Linked DNA regions of Homo sapiens: all the other regions are linked to region 2. Evidence: promoter capture Hi-C in human tissues and cell types (Jung and others, 2019). All regions are on one chromosome and are shown on one strand. The core of a region is centred on a gene start or on the middle of the fragment in contact, and the rest is flanking DNA. Distances in the headings are between cores, read along the strand shown.

Region 1 (3,326 bases), core at 818-3,317, 180 kb before region 2:
CTTCACTTCAGCCTCTGATTGGTTGCAGGCGAATCCTTCATAGGGGGTAACCAATTGGAGTTCTCTAAAGGGCACCTAGGGGTGTTACAAAATTCTTGTAGCCTTATAAAAACCCTAAAGAACATTGCAATCAGGGCTCTTGAGCTGCCCGCTAGGGCCGGCTCCCGCTCCGTGGAGTGTACTTTCATTTAAATAAATCTGCGCTGTCATTGCTTTGTGTGTTTTGTTCAATTCTTTGTTCAATGCGTCAAGAACCTGGACATCTCACAGTCAGCACTTTCCATCTGGTACCAATTTGTACAATGAGAGGAATGTAGGGAAGGAGTGATCAAATAAGCTAACTGTGATTGTGAAATGACACGAAGTCTTTGCAGTGCTATCAAGACTATTTTTTTTTTGAGGTGGAGTTTCGCTTTTGTTGCCCAGGCTGGAGTGCAGTGACGCCATCTCGGCTCGCTGCAACCTCCGCCTCCCGGGTTCAAGCAATTCTCCTGCCTCAACCTCCCAAGTAGCTGGGATTACAGGCACGCACCACCATGCCCAGCTAATTTTTGTATTTTTAGTAGAGACAGCGTTTCTCCATGTTGGTCAGGCTGGTCTCGAACTCCCGACCTCCGGTGATCTGCCCACCTCAGCCTCCCAAAGTGCTGGGATTACAGGCGTGAGCCACTGCGCCCGGCCCGCTATCAAGACTATTAACATTGAAAATGGACACAGACTGGATTTCATTTGCCTTTAATTAAACACAAAGCTGTTACATATTTTTCTCTTCTAATAGCTGCTGGAAGTCTAAGCATATGGAAACGATACCTATGAAAATCAAATGGACATTTTGGGCTTTGTGGATCATTAAAGGTTTACACTTAAAAATTATTTTTTAATTAAAAAAATAAAAATTAATTAAAGGATGACAAATACATTGGGATGTTACTCAAAATGATAATCCTGTCTGCAGCTCACTTCAGTTATTCCTTGACTAGTTCTCTCACCGTCCATAGATTTTATCCTCACCAGGAAATCATGGCACACTTGCCTAGATATCACTGTGCACATGGGAAAACACTCGCAACGGGCTACAACTGTGCAGATGACCATAACTCTTCCTCACCCTGTGAGGAACTCTAGTTTTCTGCAGAACACAATTTTTCCATCAGTGTGTAGGGGCAGCAAAGTGACAATGCCAAATATATAAGGCAATTTAAAATTATTTCACAAAGGTATTAAAAACAAACACCCACATTGTGGTTCAAATCCAGATGAAGTACCTGGTCCCAGATGCCAATGTCCAAACTCATAAAAACATATGACATGGGCCTGGTGCGGTGGCTCACGCCTGTAATCCCAGCTCTGCGGGAGGCCAAGGCGGGCAGATCACGAGGTGAAGAGATCGAGACCATCCTGGCCAACAAGGTGAAACCCCACCTGTACTAAAAATACAAAAAATTAGCTGGGCGTGGCGGGGCACGCCTGTATTCCCAGCCACTTGGGAGGGTGAGGCAGGAGAATCGCTTGAACCTGGGAGGTGGAGGTTGCAGTGAGCTGAGATCGCACCACTGCACTCCAGCCTGGCAACAGAGCAAAACTCCGTCACACACATTCACACACACACACACACACACACACACACACACACTATATATATATATATATAAAATGTATACATCATGCCCTAAAATTTTTAATATTTGCAGAAATGAGGCTGAACCATAAATATACCTTTTGTCTCTTTTTTTTTTTGAGACAGAGTCCCACTCAGTCGCCCAGGCTGGAGTGTAGTGGTTCGATCTCTGCTCACTGCAAGTTCCGCCTCCTGGGTTCACGCCATTCTCCTGCCTCAGCCTCCCGAGTAGCTGGGACTACAGGCACCTGCCACCACGCCCAGCTAATTTTTTGTATTTTTTACTAGAGACAGGGTTTCACCGGGTTAGCCAGGATGGTCTTGATCTCCTGACCTCGTGATCCACCCGCCTCAGCCTCCCAAAGTGCTGGGATTACAGGCGTGAGCCACCGCGCCCGGCCAGGGAAATAATTATTGTTTCTTTTTTTCTTTTTAATTTGACACACGGTCTCATTCTGTCACCCTGGCTGGAGTACAGTGGCAAGATAACTCATTGCAGCCTGGACCTCTTGGTCTCAAGCCATCCTCCACCCTCAGCCTCCTGAGTAGCTGGCTCTACAAGTGCACATCACCATGCCTAGATACTTTTAAAAATTTCTTTTTATAGAGACTGTGTCTCACTATGTGCCCAGACTGGCCTTGAACTCCTGTGCTCAAGTGATCCTCCTGCCTCAGCCTCCCGAAGCTTTGGAATTACAAGTGTGAGCCACTGCCCCTGGTCCTGCCGTTATTTCTGTATTACTGCTCACTATTTCCTAACTCATGAGCAGTTCTTGAAATAGTATTAAAAAAAAAGAAATAGTATTTAAGACATATTACATGGTGGAACTATAAATGAATTCATGATGAGATTGTCACTTACTGAAGCCCGATCCTTTATTCTGCATTCCCTATTATCTACCTTGTCAAGTTTGATACTATACTTTATTCTGCCTTGATATTATCCAAAAAAAAAATTTTTTTTTTTTTGAGATGGAGTCTTACTCTTGTCGCCCAGGCTGGAGTGCAGTGGCGCAATCTTGGCTCACTGCAACCTCTGCCTCCCGGGTTCAAGCGATTCTCCTGCCTCAGCCTCCCAAGTAGCTGGGATTACAGGCGCCTGCCACCACGCCTGGCCAATTTTTTGTATTTTTAGTAGAGACAAGGTTTCACCATGTTCACCATGTTGGCCAGCGTGGTCTCGAACTCCTCACATCAGGTGATCCACCCGCCTCGGTGGGTCCTGGGATTACAGGCGTGAGCCATTGCTACTGGGCTCCAATAAAGTTTAAACTTGTTTTATTAGTTATCTTTTTATGTCTTTTGCTAGACTTATTTAATACTTAAATTTATAAAACCGTTACGTAAGTTTTTGTCATTATGAATAAACAAGAATTTATTAGGCTGGGCGCGGTGGCTCACGCCTGTAACCCCAGCACTTTGGGAGGCCGAGGTGGGCAGATCACAAGGTCAGGAGATCGAGACCAGCCTGGCCAGCATAGTGAAACCCCGTCTCTACTAAAAATACAAAAATTAGCCGGGTGTGGTGGCGGGTGCCTGTAATCCCAGCTCTTCAGGAGGCTGAGGTAGGAGAATCACTTGAACCTTGGCGGGGGGGTTGCAGTGAGCCAAGATCACGGCACTGCACTCCAGCCTGGGTAACAGAGCGAGAATCTGTCTCAAAAAAAAAAAAAAGAATTTCTTAGACAAAATTATAACAGTATAGGAA
Region 2 (3,304 bases), core at 329-2,828:
CTGGTGTGCGCCGCCAGGCCTGGCTAATATTTTAATTTTTTTGTAGAGTTGCGGTCTCAGTATGTTGCCAGGCTGGTCTTGAACTCCTGGGCTCAAGCGATCCTCCCGCTTCAGCCTCCCAAAGTGCTGGGAATACAGTCGTGAGCCACCGTGCCCTTCCCAAGCTCTATCTAGACAGTCATTCCTCTTGGGGGATGCCAGCTGGGGAGAGCCTGGAGGAGGGCAAGCAGGGAGATGGAGGTTTCTCTGTGCCCTGCAGGGCAGGCCACTGGAGTCCAGAGGATGAGCAGGGAGGTTCTTGCAGGGATGACAGGAACCCTGGGGAAGTTTATCTTGGATTTTGGCCAGCAGCTCCAATCCCAGGGCTCAGGTGGGGCGGCAAGGACACACAGTGTCAGCGCCTGATGAAATCCCTGAGGTCACAGAATATGGTGGCTCCATCTTCCTTCCAGGGCTGTGTACTGCTTTTGGAGACATACAAAGTGTTTTCCAATATTCCCAAGGGAGCTTGTGGAAAATGAAGATTCCAGGCCTGTAATCCAAGCATTTTGGGAGGCAGAGGCAGGAGAATCACTTGAGCCCAGGAGTTCAAGACCAGTTTGGGCAACATAGCAAGACCCCATCTCTAACAAAAAAAAATTAGCCAGGGCCAGGCACGGTGGCTCACGCCTGTAATCCCAGCACTATGGGAGGCCAAGAAAGGTGGATCACCTGAGGTCAGGAGTTGGAGACCAGCCTGGCCAAAACGGTGAAACCCTGTCTCTACTAATAATACAAAAATTAGCTGGATGTGGTGGTGCGTGCCTGTGGCCCCAGCTACCCGGAAGGCTGAGGTGGAAGGACTGCTTGAGCCTGGGACTTCAAAGCTGCAGTGAGCTATGACTGCACCACTGCAGTCCAGCCACGGCAATTGAGTGATACCCTGTCTCAAAAACAAAACGAAAACTAAACAAAACACAGATTTCAGGGTCCAGTTCCCTATAGGATTCTGGTTCATTCCATCTGTGTTGGGGCTCAGGAATTTGTGGATCCAGGGCCATGAGTTAGGAAACTGAGAAATCTTGGAAATGATGAGACAGGCTTGGGCAAATGACCTTAGGTTTCACCTTTCTGAGACCCAGTTTCCACCTCTGTAAAATGTGGATAGTAATCTCGCCTTCTGGCCTTATGCGGAGGGTCCCACGAGAGGGAGCCTATAAAGTCTTCAAGAAAGCGGTGCAGCAGTTATGATCACTGACATTCTTCCCCAGCAAATGAGCCCCCGGAGCTGGCATGCAGGATTCGAACCAGCTCACCTAGCGCGGGATTCGAACTCGCGAAACTACTCGCGCCTTCCTGACGTCACGAAGTCACCCTGGAAAGCCGCTCTTCGCCCCGCCCCCGGCCCCGCCCGCGCCCGGAGCCCCGCCCCACTCTCCTGGGCGCAGCCTACCCCGCTGCCTGCCCCGCGCCCCGCCCCCGCTCCGGCCTCCCGCAGCCGGGGCTCGCGATTGGCCTTGCCGGGACGCCAGGGCCCGCCCCCCGAGTGTCGGCCCCGCCCCCGCAGAGGGGAGCGAGCGCTCGCGGGCCGGGGCGGAGGGTTCGGCTGCGCGGCGGGGCTGAGGCGGCCGCGGGGCCCGAGCGCAGGTAAGGGCGCCCGCGAACCGGGCCAGGGGAAGTGAGGGCGCGGCCGGCGTCCCGGAGAGGGGACTGGGACAGCTCGGATTCGGCTGCGGACCGAGTTGGGGGTCGGAGTCGGCTGAGGAGGGGGGCTGGGTCTGGGGACCCGGGCTGCAACTGGAGGCTGGGGTTGGAATTGGGGACGGGGCTGCGCTTAGGGGGTCGAAGTTAGCTGGGGAGGGGCTGGGGTTGGGGATTGGGACTGCACTTGGGGCTCAGGGCTAGCTGGGGAGGGGGCGGGAGTTGCAGGTCGAGGTTAGCTGGGGACGGGGCAGGGGGTGCAGATCGAGGTTAGCTGGGGAAGGATTGGGTCTGGGCATTGGGACTCCACTTAGAAATCAGGGCCAGCTGGGGAGGAGGCTGGAGTTGCAGGTCCAGGTTAGCTGGGGAGGGGGCTGGAGGTGGGATTGGAGGTCTGAGTTAGCTGAGGAGGGGGCTGGGGGTGAGACTGGAGGTCTGAGTTATCTGGGGAGGGGACTGGAGTTGCAGGTCGAGGTTAGCTGGGGAGGGAGCTTGGAGCGGGATTGGAGGTCTGAGTTGGCTGGGGAGGGGTCTGGAATTGCAGGTCCAGGTTAGCTAGGAAGGGGCTGGTGGTGGAATTGGAGGTCTTGAGTTTGCTGGGGAGGGGGCTAGAGTCGCAGGTCGAGGTTAGCTGCCGAGGGGGCTTGGAGTGGGATTGGAGGTCCAAGCTAGCTGGGGAGGGGGCTGGAATTGTAGGTCGAGGTTAGCTGGGGAGGGGGCTGGAAGTGGAATTGGAAATCTGAGTTAGCTGGGGAGGACGCTGGGGATGGTGTTGGGGGTTGAGGTTAATTGGAGCGGGGAACAGGGGTTGAGTCAAGGGTGCAGCTTCTTTGAAGAGGGAGCTGGGAGTGGGGTTGAGGTTTGCAGGGAGCTGGAGAGGGGGCTGGGGATGGAGTTTGAAGTGGGGTTCATTGGAGAGGGGGCTGCAGAGGGAATTAGATGTTGAGGTTGTCTGGGGAGAGGACTGAGGAATGGGGTTGGTGAAGATGGGGGGGTGTGATTGACGGCCCAGGGGTTAGGGTTAGCTGAAAAGGGGCAGAAGGACAAAGCTGGGGTGAGCCAGGGAGTGGCTGGAGCATACAGGTGGGGGTCAGGCTTGTTCCAGAAAGGGTCTGGGGGCTATCAGGGGAAATGGGGAGCTTGTGAGTGTGTGGGGTGGAAGGGGGTTCAGGGAGAAGGAAGTTGGGGTGAGTTAGTGAGAAGGGAGGTGGGGGTAAGGTCCCAGGCTGGAGACACCTGGGGGCAGGTGTTTTGCTAGACATTGACTAATCAGGAGGAAAACGGGGTGTGGGGAGGTGTCTCAGGTAGGATCCAGTTAAAAGGAATTTGGAGAGGACTCACCCCTCTACTTTTGGGGGAGATGTTAATTGTTTGCTCTAGAACTGGGCACGGGGCAGAACCCCCTGGGGAACAGTGAGTTGAAGGAGACGGGAGTTCGGAATACTTTTTGAGGTTTATTTCTAGGATATAGGGTGCCAAGGAGAACGCTTCAGGAAGGAGAAAGGCTCCTGTCGGTGACTGAATTTTTCAGGAACTAAAGTGGGAGTTTTTGGGACGGTGCTATTGAGCGACGTGGGTGGCACTTTATTTTTCCTGGGGAGCGGGGGTTGCTAGGGGTTGGGAG
Region 3 (3,240 bases), core at 222-2,721, 220 kb before region 2:
ACAGAAGCGTTCTTAGCAGGCGCGGCCCGAAAGGGCATTTCCTAACATCAGTACAGGCAAATTTGGGGCATGAGCCCTCCTTCCTCAGACCTTCAGTGCTTCCTGAGTATCCAAAGGTGGTAAAAGAAACGTTGCACGTTTTCTTTTCTTTTCTTTCATTTTAATTATTTATTTATTTATTTATTGAGATGGAGTTTCGCTCTTGTTGCCCAGGCTGGAGTGCAGTGGCGCTATCTCGGGCTCACCGCAACCTCCGCCTCCCAGGTTCAAGCGATTCTCCTGCCTCAGCCTCCCGAGTAGCTGGGATTATAGGCACCTGCCACCACGCCCGGCTAATTTTTTGTATTTTTGTGGAGACGGGGTTTCACCATGTTGGTCAGGCTGGCCTTGAACTCCTGACCTCACGTGATCCGCCCACCTCGGCCTCCCAAAATGCTGGGATTACAGGCGTGATCCACCGCGCCCAGCCACATTGCATGTTTTCAAAGTTCAGGAGAGTTTACATTTTCTCTTAGTAAGCGAAAGCGGTTTGTTGTTGTTGATTATTTTTAATATACATACAGTAAGACTATTTTAAGCGTATTTCTATGAGTTTTCATAAATGCATATTTACACCACCAAAACAGAGAACATTCTATCACTCCCCAAATACTCTTGGATTGCCCAATTGTACTCAACCTTTCACCCCTAACCACTGATCTGCTTTAGCCACCTGTATCTTTGCCTTTTCCAGAATGTCATGTTACGTGAAATATGTAGCCTTTTGAGCCCTGTTTGTAAAATTCGATGCCATATTTGTAAAATTAGCTAATTATACTTGTCATTTATTGATTGATTGAGACAAGGGTCACATCCTGTCACCTAGGCTGGAGTGGGAGGGGCACAGTCATAGCTCACTGCTGCCTCAAACGTCTGGGCTTAAGTGATCCTCCCGCCTCAGCCTCCCCGGTAGCTGGGACTCCAGGCATGCAGCACCATGCCTTGCTAATTAAAAAAAATTTTTTTAGTAGAGACAAGGTCTCCTTATGTTGCCCAGGCTGGCCTCGAACTCCTGAGCTCAAGCAATCCTCCCACTTTGGCCTCCCGAAGTGCTGGGTTTACAGGTGTGAGCCATGGCGCCCAGCCTATTATTGTCTTGTAGAATTTTCAGTTTAAAAACATTTGACAGGCTGGGCACAGTGGCTCACACCTGTAATCCCAGCATTTTTGGGAGGCCGAGGTGGGCGGATCACCTGAGGTCAGGAGTTGGAGACCAGCCTGACCAATACGGAGAAACCCCGTCTCTACTAAAAATACAAAAAGTTGGCCGGGCATGCCTGTAATCCCAGCTACTCAGGAGGCTGAGGCAGGAGAATCGCTTGAACCCAGGAGGCAGACGTTGCGGTGAGCCGAGATCGCGCCATTGCACTCCAGCCTGGGCAACAAGAGCGAAGCTCCGTCTGGAAAAAAAAAAAAAAAAACAATCGACAGAGCTAAGTATAAGAGGTGGCAGATAACAGGCCTTCAAAACTGAGAGGTTAAATTACTATGTTTACATCAAGATATGTGAGTTAAGGTTAAGATTCTGTGTTCCTTGTGCTTAACTTTCTTCATTTGTATGATGGGAGGGAAGCTGGGAACAGGAGGTGCAATGAGATGGTAAGTCATATTAATCTCTGCAGTACTTAACATCGAGAAATTGACAGAATTTCATTTGCTTTCCTCATTAACAAAATGCAAAGCTATTGGCCAGGGGTGGTGGCTCTCAACTTTAATCCCAGAGCTTTGGGAGGCTGAGGCAGGAGGATTACTTGAGTCCAGGAGTTCCAGACCAGCCTGGTCAACATAGTGAGACCTCATCTCTACAAAGAAACAACGCCCCCCACCACACGCACACAGAAAGCTATTACATTTTCTTCTCTTTCCTGTGAGCCCATTTGGTGGAAGTGCAAACTTATGAAAATCATATCTTTGAAAAGCAAAATGGGCTTTTTGAGCTTTGCAGATTATTAAAACACAAAACTTCCATCCACTCTTATGAAAATGCCTTTAAAATTTCCCAGTTTCAGGATGTCAAGTGTACTGGGGGGCCTCAAGGCCACCCCCAGTGGTTCAGTGATTTGTTAGGGGTACTGAAGGGAACTGGCATATAGTCAGCCTTACAGCTAAGACTTATTACAGTGCAAGGAAACAGAGCCAACTATTAGCAAAGGGATGAGGCACATGGGGTGAAGTCGGGGAAACCAGGAATGAGCTTCCAAGGGTCCTCCCTGGTTGGCAGCGTACAAGATGCTTTTACTGCCCGGGAAACTAATTGTAACAGCATGTGTGACTATTTACCAACCTGAGAAGCTCAATAGATACTCTGCCAGGGTTTTTTTTTATTGCCAGCTGGTTATGATGCACTCACTGCTTGGCAAATACCAAGATTCCAGATGCCTGGAATGAATGGTGTTTTGCATAAACCATATTGCTTGTGCAATTTTGACACAGCTGACCTTGTAAACGGGCCTTTCAAGGGATAGCACTCAGGCCTGTTTTGCTAAGTTTTTTGCAGTGCAGCCTATTGGCCCCTGCTTTACAACAAAATAATCATCAGTAAGACCGTCACAGCATGGGGGTAATGAGCTTGCAGGAATGATTCCAGCTATGCCCTTTAGGGGTTTCGGACTTAGTTAAAATAAAGGTCTATTTTAGAAAGCCACCTGGCTTCCTCCTTAAACTTGTGTATGAATCCTTTTTACCTGTCCTAACTTACCAAGTGTGTGGTAGAGCAGAACTCTTGCCAGTAATTTGAAGCTTCCACAGCTCAGACGGTGTTGCAATAGGTTCCACACCTGATTACAGTCCCACAGGACACACAAGGTACTGCCGGAAACTGAGTTTACAATTGTCAGGGCAACCTAAGCAAGACATCCATTAGTCAGCAGTGAAGGTTAACAGACACTCAGCGCGGACTCCCCCTGTAGGGAGAATTCTCAGTCCTGTCCAATGAGGTTAGTTGAGTCCCCGATTTCAGAGGGACTGCCTGAGGCAGTCAGTTCCACATGGTTTGCTTGTCTATGACCACAGATCATCACTTTCACCACTGTGGCCCTAAGGGTGTTCTGCAGGGCAGGAATAGCAGCTGGGTGGCTCCCTCACGGCGTGTCAGGGTGGTCTAGGCTCAGCAGTCAGTTTGCGTTCAAAGAACTTACTGGGCGGGCACATTGGCTCACGCCTGTAATCCCAGCACTTTGGGAAGCTGAGGCAGGTGGATCA
Region 4 (3,437 bases), core at 232-2,731, 150 kb before region 2:
AACAAAATTTGCTATTTTAAGAGTAGCCTTATGAGTTTTTGCAAATGCTTGTTTTCACCACTACAATCATGACAGAACACTCTTAAGCCCATATGTACTCAAATCCCCTACTTCTAACCAGCGATTTGTTCGTTTCCCTTATCTTTGCCTTTTCCATGTCTTATAAAAGGAATACCATATAGCCTTAGGAGTCTTTGTAAAATTTGATGCCCTATTTGTAAAATTAATTATACTTGCTTTCCAGTGTTCTAAATTTAAGTCTTGACAATGCCCAATATAGGTTAAGCACAGGTTAAGCCTTCAAACTTGATTCCATCATCATGAGCTACATGAATATACAAGACTCTGTTGTCCCCGTGCTTAACTTTTTTCATCTAAGAGGGAATGATGGGTAAGTGGGTGTTAAGAAATACAAGTGACTGCCAAATCACATTCATCTATAGAGCGTTATGAAAACTTATGTTAACATGGAAAGTAATGGAGATTACTGGATATTGTTTGCTCTTTAATAAAACTCTAAGGTGTTACATGTTTTTCCTCTTCCCTAGTTAATTCTGGAAGTTCAGAGGTTGAAATGATACCTGAGAAAACTTAAATAGGCTTTTGGGGCTTTCTGGCTCATTAAAACAAAAGCTTCTGCCTCCTTGGCCTATAAAACACATGAAAAATTTTCTCGTTTGAGGATGTCAAACATGTCTTCTTTTTTTCCGGAACTCACCTCTAAACCACAAAAACCATCAAACATTCCCCTCTTCTCCCCCATATGACTGGCTGCTGTGGCTTTACTGATTAGTTTTCAGCTCCAATTAACTTCTGCTTTGTAGATGAGAACTTTGGGAGTTCCCAGAGAATTATATTCATGACCTGAGAACATCCAATCCAGACCAAAGCCTGGCTTCCTTGAACGCTCACCAAAATCACAGAACACAAGGCCAAATCTGATAGTAAATCCTTTTAAACACCCTCTGATACAAGCCACAGCCCTTTCTTGATCATGTGTTCAAACTTCAACTCAACACAGCAAATTTTCTTTGACTACCAGTGTGATCCTGGTGGTTTCTGGGTAGAGGGCCTTGACAAAACCATTATTTCCGCTTTTTAATTGTTATTAACCACAAATAAGAAATCATTTTAGGCCGGGTGTGGTGGCTCATGCCTGTAATCCCAACACTTTGGGAGGCCAAGGTGGGCAGATCACCTGAGGTCAGGAGTTCAAGACCAGCCTGGCCAACATGGTGAAACCCCATCTCTACCAAAAATAAAAAAATTAGCTGGGTGTGGTGGTGCATGCCTGTAATCCCAACTACTCGGGAGGCTGAGGCAGGAGAATCAACTGAACCTGGGAGATGAAGGTTGCAGTGAGCTAAGGTCGTGCCACTGCACTCCAGCCTGGGTGACAGAGCGAGACTCTGTCTCAAAAAAAAAAAATCATTTTAATGGCAAATGTTAAGTATACAGCAATTAAAAATAACATTTATATGAAAAAATACCTGTATTTGTATATACTTGGTAATACTGATTCAAAATGTAACATGCTTAAATTATCAAAATTACAAAGTTGATTTGAAATCTGTAATTCTCTCGGTAAACAAAAAATAACATTTCTTAGTGTTATGGGTTGAATTGGGTCTCCTAAAATTTTTACGTTGAAATCTTAATTCGCGGTGCCTCAGTATGCGAAAAGAGAGCTGTTGCCAATGTAATTAGTTAAGGTAAAATCATACTGAAGTAGAGTGGGGCCTAACCCAATGAGTGGTGTGTATGTATAAAAATATTGTCACATGGAGAGACACACACACAGGGAGAATGCCATGTGAAAATTAGAGTTATGCTGCCACAAGCTAAGGAACTACCAGAAGCTAGGTGAGTTCTGAAACAGATCCTTCCCTAGCATCTTCAGAAAAAGCATGGTCCTGCCAATGCCTTGTTTCTGGATTTCTGGGTCCAGAACTGAGAAACAAAAAGTTTGTTTTCCTATGTCACCCAGTTTTTGTACTTTGTTATGGCAGCCCTGGGAAATTAATATAGTCTCTAAACAACTAATTTGAAAGCACAGTAAATAGGATTTTTTTTTCTTTTCTTGCTTGTGTGATGGAGTCTTTCCCCGTCTCCCAGGCTGGAGTGCAGTGGTGTGATCTTGGCTCACTGCAACCTCCGCCTCCTAGGTTCAAGCACTTCTCCTGTCTCAGCCTCCCAAGTAGCTGGGGTTACAGGTACTCACCACCATGCCTGGCTAATTTTTGTGTTTTTAGTAGAGACAGGGTTTCACCATGTTAACCAGGCTGGTCTCAAACTCCTGACCTCAAGCCTCCCAAAGTGCAGGGATTACAGGCATGAGCTACTGTGCCCAGCTAAACAGGATATTTCTAAGAAATATCTACAGAAGGTTTTCCTTGAAACAAAATCCACATTATTTTTAATGATACATAATCAAACCTAATAATTTAACCTATATCAAGAAACTGCATTTAGTTCTGAGTAACAGAAATCTCCCTAAATCTAATATATGAGGAAGGTATTTGTTCTCACATAGGACTCGGCAGGCACACTTAAAAATGCAATAGGGTACAAAGTCCCATGTGTTGTTTTTCTTCTTTGACTGCAACACTGTGGCTTTCGTGGTGGAATCAGGATCACAGAGCCACTGGAAGTATTAAGATAACAAGGTGTTCACTATATAAATTAGACCCCATGCAAATATGTTAAGATCTACAGAACGGGAGAATCAGAAGCTCAGAGACTGCCAAACAAGACAGTCTGAATCAGTGGTCAAGAGGTCATGCAGGGTTTTGAGAAAAATCCAGACTCTAGGTGACTGACCACACAGGAATATCCCTAATATCAAGTTAATGGAGATGTCTGAGGAAGACTACACCTCTGACACAGTGGAAATCAAGCACTTAAGTGTTTCTTTTGATGGTACTCTTGATTGGCAGGAATAAGAATCTGGAAAATAAGCTGAAGGTTGATGTTCACAAAGCCCCTATGCATCTGTCCATCTCCATTTAATGTGACCCCAAAAGCTCAGCGATGACTTACTTCTTCTTCATTCTAAATTTCATTCAAGTTATTGCTATTGGTAAATTTGGACATGGAACCATAAAGGAAATGCATTCCAGCAAATGAAGTTCCTAACACTACCCACACTGACAACAATGCAGAAGAACTATCTGCAACTCTGGATTTCTCCGTCACATCACAAGTCAAAGCCTACTGTCCAATTCACAATCACAAGCAAAGACAAACAGCAATGGGCAAACATTAAAAATTACAATTCATTTGAGGCTATACTCCTTAAACAACTTTGCATAATTACAAAATTCTGCCAACTACTTCTTAAAAAATGGAATAAGGCTCCTCTGGCCAAACAATAAAAATACTCCCAGTAAAAAAGGTGGAAAATATAATAGATACGTAATATCCAATACCTGTCACAC

The links. Contacts are between HindIII fragments. The study calls those that stand out against the background at their distance.
Region 1: a fragment that was not itself captured here is called in contact with the fragment with the promoter of GNG7 in region 2 in 3 of the 25 tissues and cell types used here (dorsolateral prefrontal cortex, liver and pancreas).
Region 3: a fragment that was not itself captured here is called in contact with the fragment with the promoter of GNG7 in region 2 in 1 of the 25 tissues and cell types used here (aorta).
Region 4: a contact is called between a fragment that was not itself captured here and the fragment with the promoter of GNG7 in region 2, in 2 of the 25 tissues and cell types used here (dorsolateral prefrontal cortex and lymphoblastoid cells).

Annotation. Positions count from the first base shown.
Region 1 is chr19:2,880,839-2,884,164 of GRCh38, reverse strand. ZNF556 (zinc finger protein 556) reads right to left here. Exons shown (of 4, transcript NM_024967.3): 4 at 720-3,326. Among named protein-coding and RNA genes, the nearest start is that of ZNF556, 15 kb to the right of the region's middle. The HindIII fragment of the contact is 5,975 bases long and covers 1-3,326 here.
Region 2 is chr19:2,700,968-2,704,271 of GRCh38, reverse strand. GNG7 (G protein subunit gamma 7) reads left to right here and starts at 1,578. Exons shown (of 5, transcript NM_052847.3): 1 at 1,578-1,626. RefSeq lists a silencer at 1,293-1,682. The HindIII fragment of the contact is 6,266 bases long and covers 1-3,304 here.
Region 3 is chr19:2,922,825-2,926,064 of GRCh38, reverse strand. No RefSeq gene overlaps it. Among named protein-coding and RNA genes, the nearest start is that of ZNF77, 21 kb to the left of the region's middle. The HindIII fragment of the contact is 8,567 bases long and covers 1-3,240 here.
Region 4 is chr19:2,854,202-2,857,638 of GRCh38, reverse strand. ZNF555 (zinc finger protein 555) reads right to left here. Exons shown (of 4, transcript NM_152791.5): 4 at 1-3,437. Among named protein-coding and RNA genes, the nearest start is that of ZNF556, 11 kb to the left of the region's middle. The HindIII fragment of the contact is 5,176 bases long and covers 1-3,437 here.